4 separate regions of the Homo sapiens genome follow, and regions 1, 3 and 4 are each linked to region 2. The links are contacts of gene promoters, found by promoter capture Hi-C in blood cells and fetal thymus (Javierre and others, 2016). All regions are on one chromosome and are shown on one strand. Each heading gives the region's core, a stretch centred on a gene start or on the middle of the fragment in contact. The rest is flanking DNA. Distances are from core to core; before and after follow the strand shown. Region 1 overlaps ARHGAP4 (Rho GTPase activating protein 4). Region 2 holds the start of FLNA (filamin A). Region 3 overlaps MECP2 (methyl-CpG binding protein 2). Region 4 overlaps MECP2 (methyl-CpG binding protein 2).

Region 1 (2,700 bases), core at 5-2,504, 450 kb before region 2:
CTCTGCGCTGAGGCCAACAGATGGCCAGAGCCACCCGGTTGAGGGGGAAGGGGAAGGGTGTCCCAGAGAGAGGGGAGAGCCGCCCCAGCGCCAGCCAGGCACCTTTCAGTTTGGCTTCCTGTCTCTCCCTCGTTCCTGGAAAGCCTCTGAATGGTTTCCCCTGCGACTTCCTTTCCCGCCGGTACCCAGGCTCCGGGAGGTGGCAGCCTCCCTTGCAAACACACGGATACACAACACACAGATCACAGTGCTGCTCAGGGCAAGCCTGCAGCGATCTCGCAGTCTCAGTGGCTGGGGAAGCCTGCCCTCAGGCCCCAGGGGAAAGGACAGTCCACAGTGAGGGCTGGGAGCCAGGGAGAGCTGATCCGGCCTTGTAAGTGAAAGAATGGGGCAGGGAGCTAGCCCCCGTCTTCTGACCCCACTTCCCACTCCCAATCACCCCCCGCCCCACCTGTGCATTCCCCCACCCTGCAGAGAGAGTCACACCCAGGGCCCCATACTGCCGGCCTTTTGACACCCTATCACTGGCTTGATTTGGCAACGCTGCTTCCCCCACACAGGCCTGAAGCAAAGAAGTGCCTGTCCAGCAAGTTTAAGCAACCTGCGGAAGACACTTTTGCCATCTCCTGAGTGCCCGTCCCGAGTAAATAAGATGCTAGCTCAGCTTCTGGCCAGCAGGCTGCCCACCTACTCATCTCCATCCACATCCCCAGGGAGGGACATGAATTGATGTCTTCATTCAGCAGAATGTTGATTATGCACCCATTCTGTGGCAGGCACGTTTTAAATACAAAGGCAAAGAGGTTTGACCAAGTGTCTGCCCTCTTGGAGCTGGGATTGGAATGGGGCACGAACACATATCAGAATGCCCAGGAGTGATGGGTGCGGAGAAGATGAACCCACAAAGCAAGATCAGAGCCAGGGGTGGGTGGGGACAGGGAGGACCTCTTTTTAAAGGAGGGTGGTCAAGAACAAGCCGCATCGTTGGAGCAGAAGGCTGGAGCTGGCTGTACGTGGGCAGTAGGGGGAGTCCGAGAGACCGGTAGGGACAGATGGCACAGAGCCCGGGGTCTGGGCAGAGCTCCCAGCTGGACTCCGAGTGAGAGAGGAGCCACAGTAGTGGGGTGATGTGGTCCAGCTTCGTTTTCAGGGCCCCCTCACACTGCCAGGTGGAGCCCAGGTGGCAGCTACTGTGCTAGTCCAGGCAAAAGACGGCAGGATTCAGACCAGCAGCAGCGAGGGAGGACTCCGCTGAGAAGAGCTCAATCCCATTGGATTTCTGTCCCGCCAGTGACTTCCCAGGGGCTGTTGCATGGGGACCCTGTGGGTTCCGCCTGCCCAGCATCCCTACCTCCTCCCCTGATCTCCTATTGGAGAATGTCCCCTTCCTAGTCTCAGCCCCCTTGACTCCAGGTGCCCCAGCCCTGGCTGCATGCGTCACCCATCCCTCTGTCCCTCCACTCCCTGCCCCCACCAGACTAGCCAGGTGAGGGACCCAGGAGCCTGACCCTTCCAATTGAATTACTGAACAGGAGAGCTCTTCCCACCGGCAGATCAAGCTGGGTAAGTGGAAGCCTGGGGCACGGGACCTCCCGACAGAGCAGGGCAGAGCCCACGATGCCAAGTGAGACAGATGGAGAGTGTCTTCATCCTATCCGAGGCTGGCCTCCTGTGGTTAACTCGTCAGCTCCAAGGCCAGGTGGGGTGGGCGCTAATGCCATTTGAAATCAGGAGAGTCCTCACTGAATCAGTTTAACGTTTTGTTTTGATTTTTTGTTTTGAGACGGAGGATGTTGCCCAGGCTGGAGTACAGTGGTGCGATCTCGGCTCACTGCAACCTCCGCCTCCCGGGTTCAAGCGATTCTCCCGCCTCAGCCTCCCGAGTAGCTGGGACTACAGGGGCGCACCACCACACCCAGCTAATTTTTGTATTTTTAGTAGAGACAGGGTTTCATCATGTTGGCCAGACTGGGTCTTGAACTCCTGACCTCAGGTGATCCGCCCGCCTCGGCCTCCCAAAGTGCTGGGATTACAGACGTGAGCCACCACGCCTGGCCCAGTTTAACATTTTTTGATAAAAGTAAATTTCATTTCATTCCAAGAAAGGTGTTAGACAACTGCTCGCCTCACTGGCCCTCTGGAGCCTGCCCTGCCCTGCTTCCCCCAGAGGAATACAATCCCTGGGGACTTATGACAACTGAACAGTGCAGAAGGAACCAGCAGAGGGAACCGCTGCCTTTCTTCATCACTGCCGGCAGCAAAAGCTGACTGGAAGCCATGTCCTAGTCCAGATCCGGGCATGCACACCGGCTGGTGTTGAGCAGGCAACTTGTGAATTGCAAGTCGATTGCATTGGTGGCTTTCCTGGCAGAGCTTTCGGATCTCAGTTCAGACAAACTCGTCAGCACACCCTGTCCTGACCTCCCCCTAAACTAGGGCTGGCCCTCTTCCGACCCCTTCTTGGCACCGTGCACTTTCCTTCCCTTTGTAGTGCTTATTATCATAATGCAAAGTCTATGTCTCCCCCACTAGACCCGTGAGCCATGTGAGGGCGGGGTGGCCACTGACGCCATTTGAAATCAGGGGAGTCCTCATTGAATCATTGCTTTTACTCTGGGTAAAAAGCCAGGGCTGGAGGGGCTGGAGTCGGGGTTCTCTCTGGTACAGCAGTATACTCCCAGGGCCTGGGACAGCACAGAT
Region 2 (2,700 bases), core at 183-2,682:
AAAGCAAGTTCCCAGGCACGGAATTCCATCAATAATTGACTCTCTCTCCACTAAGGGCCATTGAGCTGGGTTGTCTGGGTTCATTCCTTAATCTTCAGAGCTCAGGGAAACTGAGTCAGAGTGACCAGTGGTCAATTCCAGCAGAAAGAGTGTCAGGAGGTGGGTGCCGTGTCTTCCAGCCCTAGCTTTTCCCTATTTAGAGGAAACAAGGAATGGGCGTGTAGAGGGTTCTTGTCCCTAGAACATAGTATCAACCGCCAGATGTCGCCCGATCCCAAAGCCACCAGATCGGGCAGTCCTGGGAAGCCAAAATCCAGCTCTTTCATATTTTCCCTTATTTGGAGTAGATTCTTGGATGTTAGGCACACCCCGCCCACCACACCACCCCTGGCCCTCAGACCCCAGGCCAGACCCTCCCACTGGGAGGTATAGCCCAAGCCCAGGAGCTGTTCAGCTGGGATCCCTAAGGAGCTGTTTCCAGGCCTGCGTAGCCAGGGGGCGCAGGAGGGAAGGAAGCCGCAGACTGGCAAGGTGAGAAGAGACCTGTGCTGGCAAGTCCAGGTGCGGCAGGTGAGGTCGCCCATTCCCAAGCTCCCACCTTGACGGTGCACTCGGAGCACTTACAAATGGGTCTGCCAGTGGATTTTAACCTATTTTGCCTGGCCCCAGGTGGCACGGGAATCTGGGGACATTGTTGGTTATATCCTGGCTGGCAGTGCGCATCCAACTCAGAGCCAACCTGGCATAGGGCCCAGGGCCCAACCAAGGAACCTGGCCTGGTCTCATCCTCACCATGGCCCCCATGGAGTAGAGCAGCCCCAGAACCAGCTCCCCTGTGCCCAAAGCAGCTGGTGCCCTGTGGACTCGAGCCAGCAAGGGACACGCTGTCCCCCTCCCAGTGGGCACACTGGCTGAGAAGTGTCCTTCCAGGTGGCCACTCGCCCTGAGTCCACACAAGTTCCTGGTGTCAGGGCCCTTCTCTCTCAGGCATGCAGTGGTCCGTTCATGGGCAAGTGCCCAGACACCCTCTCTCTCTCGGGGACCCCCCATGGCCTCAGGCTCCCACATTCGTGGGCACAGACATGGCTCGTGGGTCAACTAGGGAAGCTATTCTCTGGACACTCACTCCCAGATGCCAGGGGAGCCTCCATCGGCTCACGCATCCCAGCTGAACCTGGCCCGGACCTGGGCGCGAGCTGGCGCCTGCGTTTTCCGGCCTCTCTGCCCGCCTTCTCCAACCCCGCCCCCGGCCGACGAGGAGCGCGGCGACCCTACGGCGCGAAGCCGGGCCGCGGAGACCTCACCTGCTGTTCCTGAGAGCGACCGGTGACCGATGACCGCGGGGTGGCGCCCGGATCGCCTTCGCGCCCGCGCCCGCGCCAGGCGCCTCGGGGATTCTGTCGGCGTCCGCTGCGCGCGACGCGCCTCCACGCGAATGGGCCGCCGCCGCCCGCCTTCTTGTTGGCCGCACCCCCGCCCCGCGCCCGCCCCGCGCCCGGCCCGGCCCGGCGAGAAAGCCTTAATTGGTAAAATTGCCCAGGAGCCCGGGACGGGTGCGTGGGGGGCGGGGGTGCGGGGGCACGCCGTGAGCTCCAGCGACCCGCCGCCGGGCGACGCCGCCCCCCGAGATGAGCTCACCGCCGGCGAGGGCCGCCAGGCCCTGGGGGAGGGAGGGCTTCGTGGGGGAGTCGCCTCCAGCGCCCACAGGGACTGCAGGGCTCGTGTCTAGGCCCAATCACAAGGATCCTGCGTGTCTGAGTCTGGGGGAGCCAAGCGCACCCCAGGTGGAAAGGCCGAGGCCCAAGGCCACCTTCTCCAAGGAGCCACCCACAGTCACAGCCCCTGGTGTCTGTCCCAAGCCGGGATTGTTTCCTGGGGTGGGGGCAACAGGTCGTTGCAGGTGTTGGCTGGGCGCCTACGTCAGGCAGGGCCCCGGGACGGGACTGCAGGGCTCCGAGCCCTGGGATGAACCTGACTGCCATGGATCAGGCGCTGCCAGGTCTGGCCTGGGGTGGGCAGCAGAAACAGGATCGCTCAGGGGGACGAGAAAGTTAAGTTTGTTTAGTATTAAGAAGATTCTGATCTTAAAGAAAACATTGGCCGGGCATGGTGGCTCATGCCTATAATCCTAGCACTGTGGGAAGCTGAGGCAGGTGGATTAATTGAGCCCGGGAGTTTGAGACCAACCTGGGCAACACAGCAAGACACTATCTCTACCAAAAATATAAAAATTAGCTGGGCGTGGTGACGTGCACCGGTAGTCTCAGCTGCTCAGGAGACAGATGGGAGGATCGTTTAAGCCCGGGAGTTTGAGGCTGCAGTGAGCTATAATTTCACCACTACACTCCAGCCTGGGTCACACAGTGAAACCCTGTCACTAAACATAAAAAAAAAGGCCAGGTGCGGTGGTTCATGCCTGTAATCCCAGCACTTTGGGAGGCCGAAGTGGGTGGATCACGAGGTCAGGAGTTCAAGAACAGCCTGGCCAAGATGGTGAAACCCCGTCTCTACTAAAAATATAAAAACTAGCCGGGCGCAGTGGCAGGCGCCTGTAATCCCAGCTACTCGGGAGGCTGAGGCGGGAAAATCGCGTGAACCCGGGCGGCAGAGGTTGCAGTGAGCCGAGATCACGTCACTGCACTCCAACCTGGGTGATAGAGACTCCGTCTCAAAAAAAAAAAAAAAAAAAAAAAAAAAGGC
Region 3 (2,700 bases), core at 24-2,523, 280 kb before region 2:
GAGGCCAAGGCAGGTGGATCGCCTGAGGTCAGGAGTTCGACACCAGCCTGGCCAACATGGTGAAACCCATCTCTACTAAAAATACAAAAATTAGCTGGGTGTGGTGGCAGGCGCCTGTAATCCCAGCTACTCAGGAGGCTGAGGCAGGAGAATCACTTGAACCCAGGAGGTGGAGGTTGCAGTGAGCCAAGATTGTGCCACTGTACTCCAGCCTGGATGACAGAGCAAGACTCCATCTCAAAAAAAGAAAAAACAAAACAAAACAAAAACCCTCCTGTTAATTACAACACAAAAAGTACACAGTTTAGTCTTAGAAGACTTAGAAGGATCTACATTAAGCTATTAACAGCAGTTATTCTGGGTAGTGGGAGCAGAGATTAAGCGGGGAGCTTTCATTTTTTTACCTGATACTTTTTTTTTTTTTTTTTTTTGAGACCGAGTCTCACTCTGTCACCCAGGCAGGAGTTCAGTGGTGTGATCTTGGCTCACTGCAACCTCCGCCTCCCAGGTTCAAGTGATTCTCCTGCCTCAGCCTTCCGAGTAGCTGGGACTACACGCTCAAGCCACCATGGCCAGCTAATTTTTGTATTTTTAATAGAGATGGGGTTTCGCCGTGTTAGCCAGGCTGGTCTCGAACTCCTGACTTCAGGTGATCCACCCGCCTAGGCCTCCCAAAGCGCTGTGATTACAGGCATGAGCCACCTTGCCCAGCCACCTGATCAATTTTTAAGTGGTTTGATTTTTCTATAAATCCATGTATTATTTTAGTAATTCTTTAAAAAGTAAAAGAAGAAAAATAGATATCAAGCATTTATCTACTAAAGACGGGTACTGTCCTTTGAGAATTCCCTCAAAAGTTCTTTGAAGCTCAAATGGCTACATCTTTCCCATTCATAAGATACTTTTTAAATTTCCTCTTTCTACATTTCTTTTTAAAAGTTTATTTTCAATTAGCTTCCTCAGGTTGAACTCTCTGTACATTTCTTAGGAGAAACTGTATGGTGTCAACACTGCCTGTTTTATAACATCCATTCGTAATCTGTAATCTGAGAAAAAGACTCGTAAAAACCCAAACCACCCTCCAGGCCTAACATCTTCCAGAAGAAACCCATTCACTGCCCATATTACATTTAGTCCACACAATTTCTGAGACAAAGCACAAAGCACTAGCCATACAACTCCCACCAGCATAAATACGTGGAGTACAAAGAATGTCCTGTCAGCTGGGCCCAGAGCACACCCCACAGCAGTAAAAGAGAATGACAATTTGAGTCACAGGATCAGGAGCAGAATCAAATTTGGGACTTGAGGCAGTGTGATGCTCTTCTGGTCTTCCGCTTCCTTCCACACCTTCTATTCTCCTTCAGCCAAACCTTGCCCTCACATAATCCCTAAGCAGGCTATTTCTTATGGATGTCTACAACAGCTTCACACTGAGGTGTCAGAAACCACTAGAGAGACAACAAAGAACGACTTAGGGTCTCAGTCGGAATCACAATGGCCGCATAAGTGAAAACTCACATTTTTGCTTAGGGGAAAAAAAATGGGAAAATTCAATTGGAACATTCTGCTTTACCACACAGAAGTTCTGAAATCCACATGTCAAAACATCAAATGCGGAGTGACCACTAATCAAAAAGACAAAACAAAACAACAACAACAACAACAACAACAAACAGCTTGAGATGTTGAGCCTGAAGGTTGAGAAATTAAGGAACCATTCATTTTTACAAAACTAAAGTCCACACAATGGTGCCAAGTAGTTCAAACTGCAGCTGATACAGCACCTGAGTGTCAGACCTAGAATGACTGGGGCCCCCAGGTTTTTACAAAGTACTCATCCTCCTCTAGAGTCCCAAGAACCAGATGTATATCTGGGTACTCTCTTTAGTTACCATGGGAGGAGTGTAGCAAGCACATGACATTAGCCATGGCCCCCGGTGTTCTGAGACAGCTTTCAGGAGGGTGTCCTTCTAGGGAACCAACCACATACCAGTTCCCATATCTGAAAATGCATTACCACTGCTCACTAATGTTGACCACTAAGCCATTTACCCCAAACCAAAGCAAACACATGCTGAAGACCGCTAAGGCAACAGCAGCAGCGCAAAAGGGCTCAGTGCAAGCGCTCTCAGCTCAGCTGACCTGCTTCAAGGTGAACTGAAGTTGCAGATCACCAGTTCCGGCTCTAATCTGACGCCCGCCCCCAGATCACGCTGTGGCGACCAAGTAACCCTACACACACTGACCTTTCAGGGCTCAGGGAAGTGACTTTTTTTTATTATATGGCACAGTTTGGCACAGTTATGTCTTTAGTCTTTGGGGTACTTTTATACTGTCCAAGAGTAGTATATTTTTTTCCTCTTTTCCTTTTTTTTTTTTTTTTAAAAAAAAAAAAAACAGATGGCCAAACCAGGACATATACTAAAAAAAAAAAAAGGAAGGTTACTTACCTGAGCCCTAACATCCCAGCTACCATGGAATCCTGTTGGAGCTGGTCTACAGAAGCAAGGTGTATTCTGGGGAGTCACATGTCACATCAAAGCAGGAACTGGTGAGTCTGTATTTTTATGGAGCCTAAAACAAAGAAAATTGTAAGTTGAAAGCCCCCATTGAGCTGCACGACCTTTTTCCCAGGGCTATTTGGGACATTTTGAAGATAAACACATAGACAAAGTACTAGGCTATTTCCCAGCTTAC
Region 4 (2,700 bases), core at 35-2,534, 330 kb before region 2:
CTCACACCTGTAATCCCAGCACTTTGGGAGGCTGAGGTGGGCGGATCACGAGGTCAGTTCGAGGCCATCCTGACCAACATGGTGAAACCCCCTCTCTACTAAAAATAAAAAATTAGCCAGGTGTGGTGGCGCGCACAAAGGGACCGGGGCGGTGCTGGCGGCGATGCCAACAGACCTCAGTGTACTGTGGGGTTCTTTCAGCCAGAACTGTTCATGGTTTCATCAGTGAGCTCCAGTTACCACACCACACAAGTTTGGAGTGATCCACCCCGCCCCAGTTTTTCCTGCACGAACTCATGTTTTTATTGTGTGATTTACAGAACACAAGATCTTTTTCTAAGAATGCACACATCACACGTTGAAGCAGAAAGGCCTTTACAAAATCTTAAAATACCTACAAAATATGAAGTAAGGCTCTTAAGAAATAAAATATTCAATGATTTTGCTGCTAGAATGCAAACATTAGATCAAATCCTTCATTTGATCTAGCAAAGGAAAATTAGAGTTGCAGGAATCTTGTTTTCAGGCCAAACCATGACATCCTGAGGGGTCTGATGGCAGGAACTGCCTGCATTTTCCTCATGAATGTGACCTGCAGTGATCTTGTGAGAAAGGCCCGGAAGGCCGTGCAAATTACAGGGGTACAAGCAACAGCTGGCAGGTGTGGCCAGACAGGCAACTGCAGTTAAGGAAAGACTACTCAATCCCTGAGGTTTTCAGATTTTACAAAAAGGCAAAAAAGCCAGGTGAACAAGGCAGATGAAAGGTATTTTTCACTTGAATTGGAATCCAGCCCCCTCCCTGTCCCCTGGAGTGAGCTCCAGAGAAACTTCCAGAGCCCCAGCAATATCCCAACCTTTCGTAAATTCACTCATGCTCGCCACTTTCAGGAGATGGCATTTCTCAGCACCTTTCACTTCCAGTTATCCCTCGGCACAGCACAAAGAGCTAAACTACCACTCGAGGCAGTTAACCTAAGGGCAGGGTGGTGGCTACAGCTCCAGGTGAACAGTCTGGGACCAGAGGAAATAATGAGCCCCCCCTTGTACTGGCTGCTTCCACCCTAAAGTGTCATCCAGATGGTGTTTCCAATTCTTTCTACTTCCAGTATTAGCTGCAGAATTACGGAATCAAGGAGGCTTCTCTGCATGAATCAATAAAGGCTATAGCACTTTGAGACACAAGCTTTGGCCCTTTAAAAATGTGAGAAATCAAACTGGCACAGGCAGAGTGTCTCAGTGGTCTCCAGGGAGCAAGAGAGAATGAGGTTCAGCTTGAAGGCTACAAGGGTGGAGCCTGAGGTTCAGCTGCCCTGCTCTGAATTCGCAGTCCATTTCTTAATCCTCCACTTTTGAGAAGATGCGAGAAACCAGTTATGTTTTGCTAAGCTTAAATAAAATGCAGTTCTTGCCAACCAAAAGCAGAACCCTCCCCAAATACAGGCAACCAGTGCCATACAGCAAATCTCATCTTTATAGATGTGTAAAATGAAAACCGAAACACAAGCCCACCACATACAGGTTAAAAAATTCCTGCTGTGGAGAACAGTTTGGCAGTTTCTCAAATGTTAAACATGGAGTTACCATATGACCTGGCAATTTTACTCCTAGCCATACACTCTCAAAAAGCCACAACTATGCCGGGTGCGGTGGCTCACGTCTGTAATCCCAGCACTTTGGGAGGCTGAGGTGGGTGGATCACCTGAGGTCAGGAGTTTGAGACCAGCCTGGCCAATATGGCGAAACCTTGTCTCTACTAAAAATACAAAAAAATTTAGCCGGGCATGGTGGTGAGTGCTACCTGTAGTCCCAGCTACTCAGGAGACTGAGGCAGGAGAATTGCTTGAACCTGGGAGGTGGAGGTTGCAGTGAGCAGAGATCGTGCCACTGTAATCCAGCCTGGGCGACAGAGCAAGACCTTGTCTCAAAAAACCAAAACAAACAAACAAAAAACCAAAACCAGTAACCAAACAGATATCCGTACACCAGTGTTCATGGCAGCACAGTTTACAACAGCCAAATGGTGGGGGCAACCCAAATATGCATTCCCAAGGGATGGGTGGATAATCAAAACCTCATTATCTATAGGATATAATATCATTCAGCCTCAAAAAGGAAAGAAATTCTGACACATGCTACAATGCAGATGAACCTTGAGGACATTACGCTCAGTGAAAGAGGCCAGACACAAAAGGCCAAATAGTGCATAATTCCATTTATAGGAAATGTCCAGAATAGGCAAATCCATAGAGACAGGAAGTGGATGAGTTGTTGCCAGGGGCTGCGGGTAATAAGAGGTGACTGCTCCTGTGTCTGGGGTTTCTTTTGGGTGCTGAAAGTGTTCTGGAATGACACAGAGGCGATGGTTGCACAACTCTGTGAATGTACTAAAAGACACTGAATTGCACATTTTATTTTTAAACAATTTTTTCTGTGAGCCTATGAATTATACTGAAGAATGAATTGTACACTTTAAATGAGTAAATTTCATGGTATGTGAATTATATCTAAATTAAAAAAAACAACAACATTAAAACAGCAGCTGACCACCAATTATTCTAAATCATAAAGATAGGTTTTGTGATGCCTGGCCAGTGCTCAGAGCCCACACAGCTGTCTCAGAGCAAGTCTATCTGGCTGTGGCACAGAGCCCCGGCAGATAGATGGGCTGTCCGTCTGAGGAAGAGGCCAATGTGGGGAC

Evidence for each region. Contacts are between HindIII fragments. The CHiCAGO score rates a contact against its expected background, and 5 or more counts as called.
Region 1: a contact is called between a fragment that was not itself captured here and the fragment with the promoter of FLNA in region 2, in 2 of 17 cell types (total CD8 T cells and M0 macrophages). The highest score is 6.2, in total CD8 T cells.
Region 3: a fragment that was not itself captured here is called in contact with the fragment with the promoter of FLNA in region 2 in 2 of 17 cell types (M0 macrophages and monocytes); the score reaches 6.4 in M0 macrophages.
Region 4: a contact is called between a fragment that was not itself captured here and the fragment with the promoter of FLNA in region 2, in 1 of 17 cell types (M0 macrophages). The highest score is 5.9, in M0 macrophages.

The regions. Positions count from the first base shown.
Region 1 is chrX:153,922,022-153,924,721 of GRCh38, forward strand. The region is part of intron 1 of ARHGAP4 (Rho GTPase activating protein 4); the gene reads right to left. Among named protein-coding and RNA genes, the nearest start is that of ARHGAP4, 2.9 kb to the right of the region's middle. RefSeq lists enhancers at 1,403-1,903, 2,410-2,539. The HindIII fragment of the contact is 3,334 bases long and covers 1-2,700 here.
Region 2 is chrX:154,373,202-154,375,901 of GRCh38, forward strand. FLNA (filamin A) reads right to left here and starts at 1,433. Exons shown (of 48, transcript NM_001110556.2): 1 at 1,305-1,433. RefSeq lists an enhancer at 171-220 and silencers at 1,310-1,369, 1,380-1,519. The HindIII fragment of the contact is 17,250 bases long and covers 1-2,700 here.
Region 3 is chrX:154,089,731-154,092,430 of GRCh38, forward strand. The region is part of intron 1 of MECP2 (methyl-CpG binding protein 2); the gene reads right to left. Among named protein-coding and RNA genes, the nearest start is that of MECP2, 6.6 kb to the right of the region's middle. The HindIII fragment of the contact is 6,480 bases long and covers 1-2,700 here.
Region 4 is chrX:154,040,896-154,043,595 of GRCh38, forward strand. All of the region lies in intron 1 of MECP2 (methyl-CpG binding protein 2), which reads right to left. Among named protein-coding and RNA genes, the nearest start is that of MIR718, 22 kb to the left of the region's middle. RefSeq lists an enhancer at 153-653. The HindIII fragment of the contact is 203 bases long and covers 1,184-1,386 here.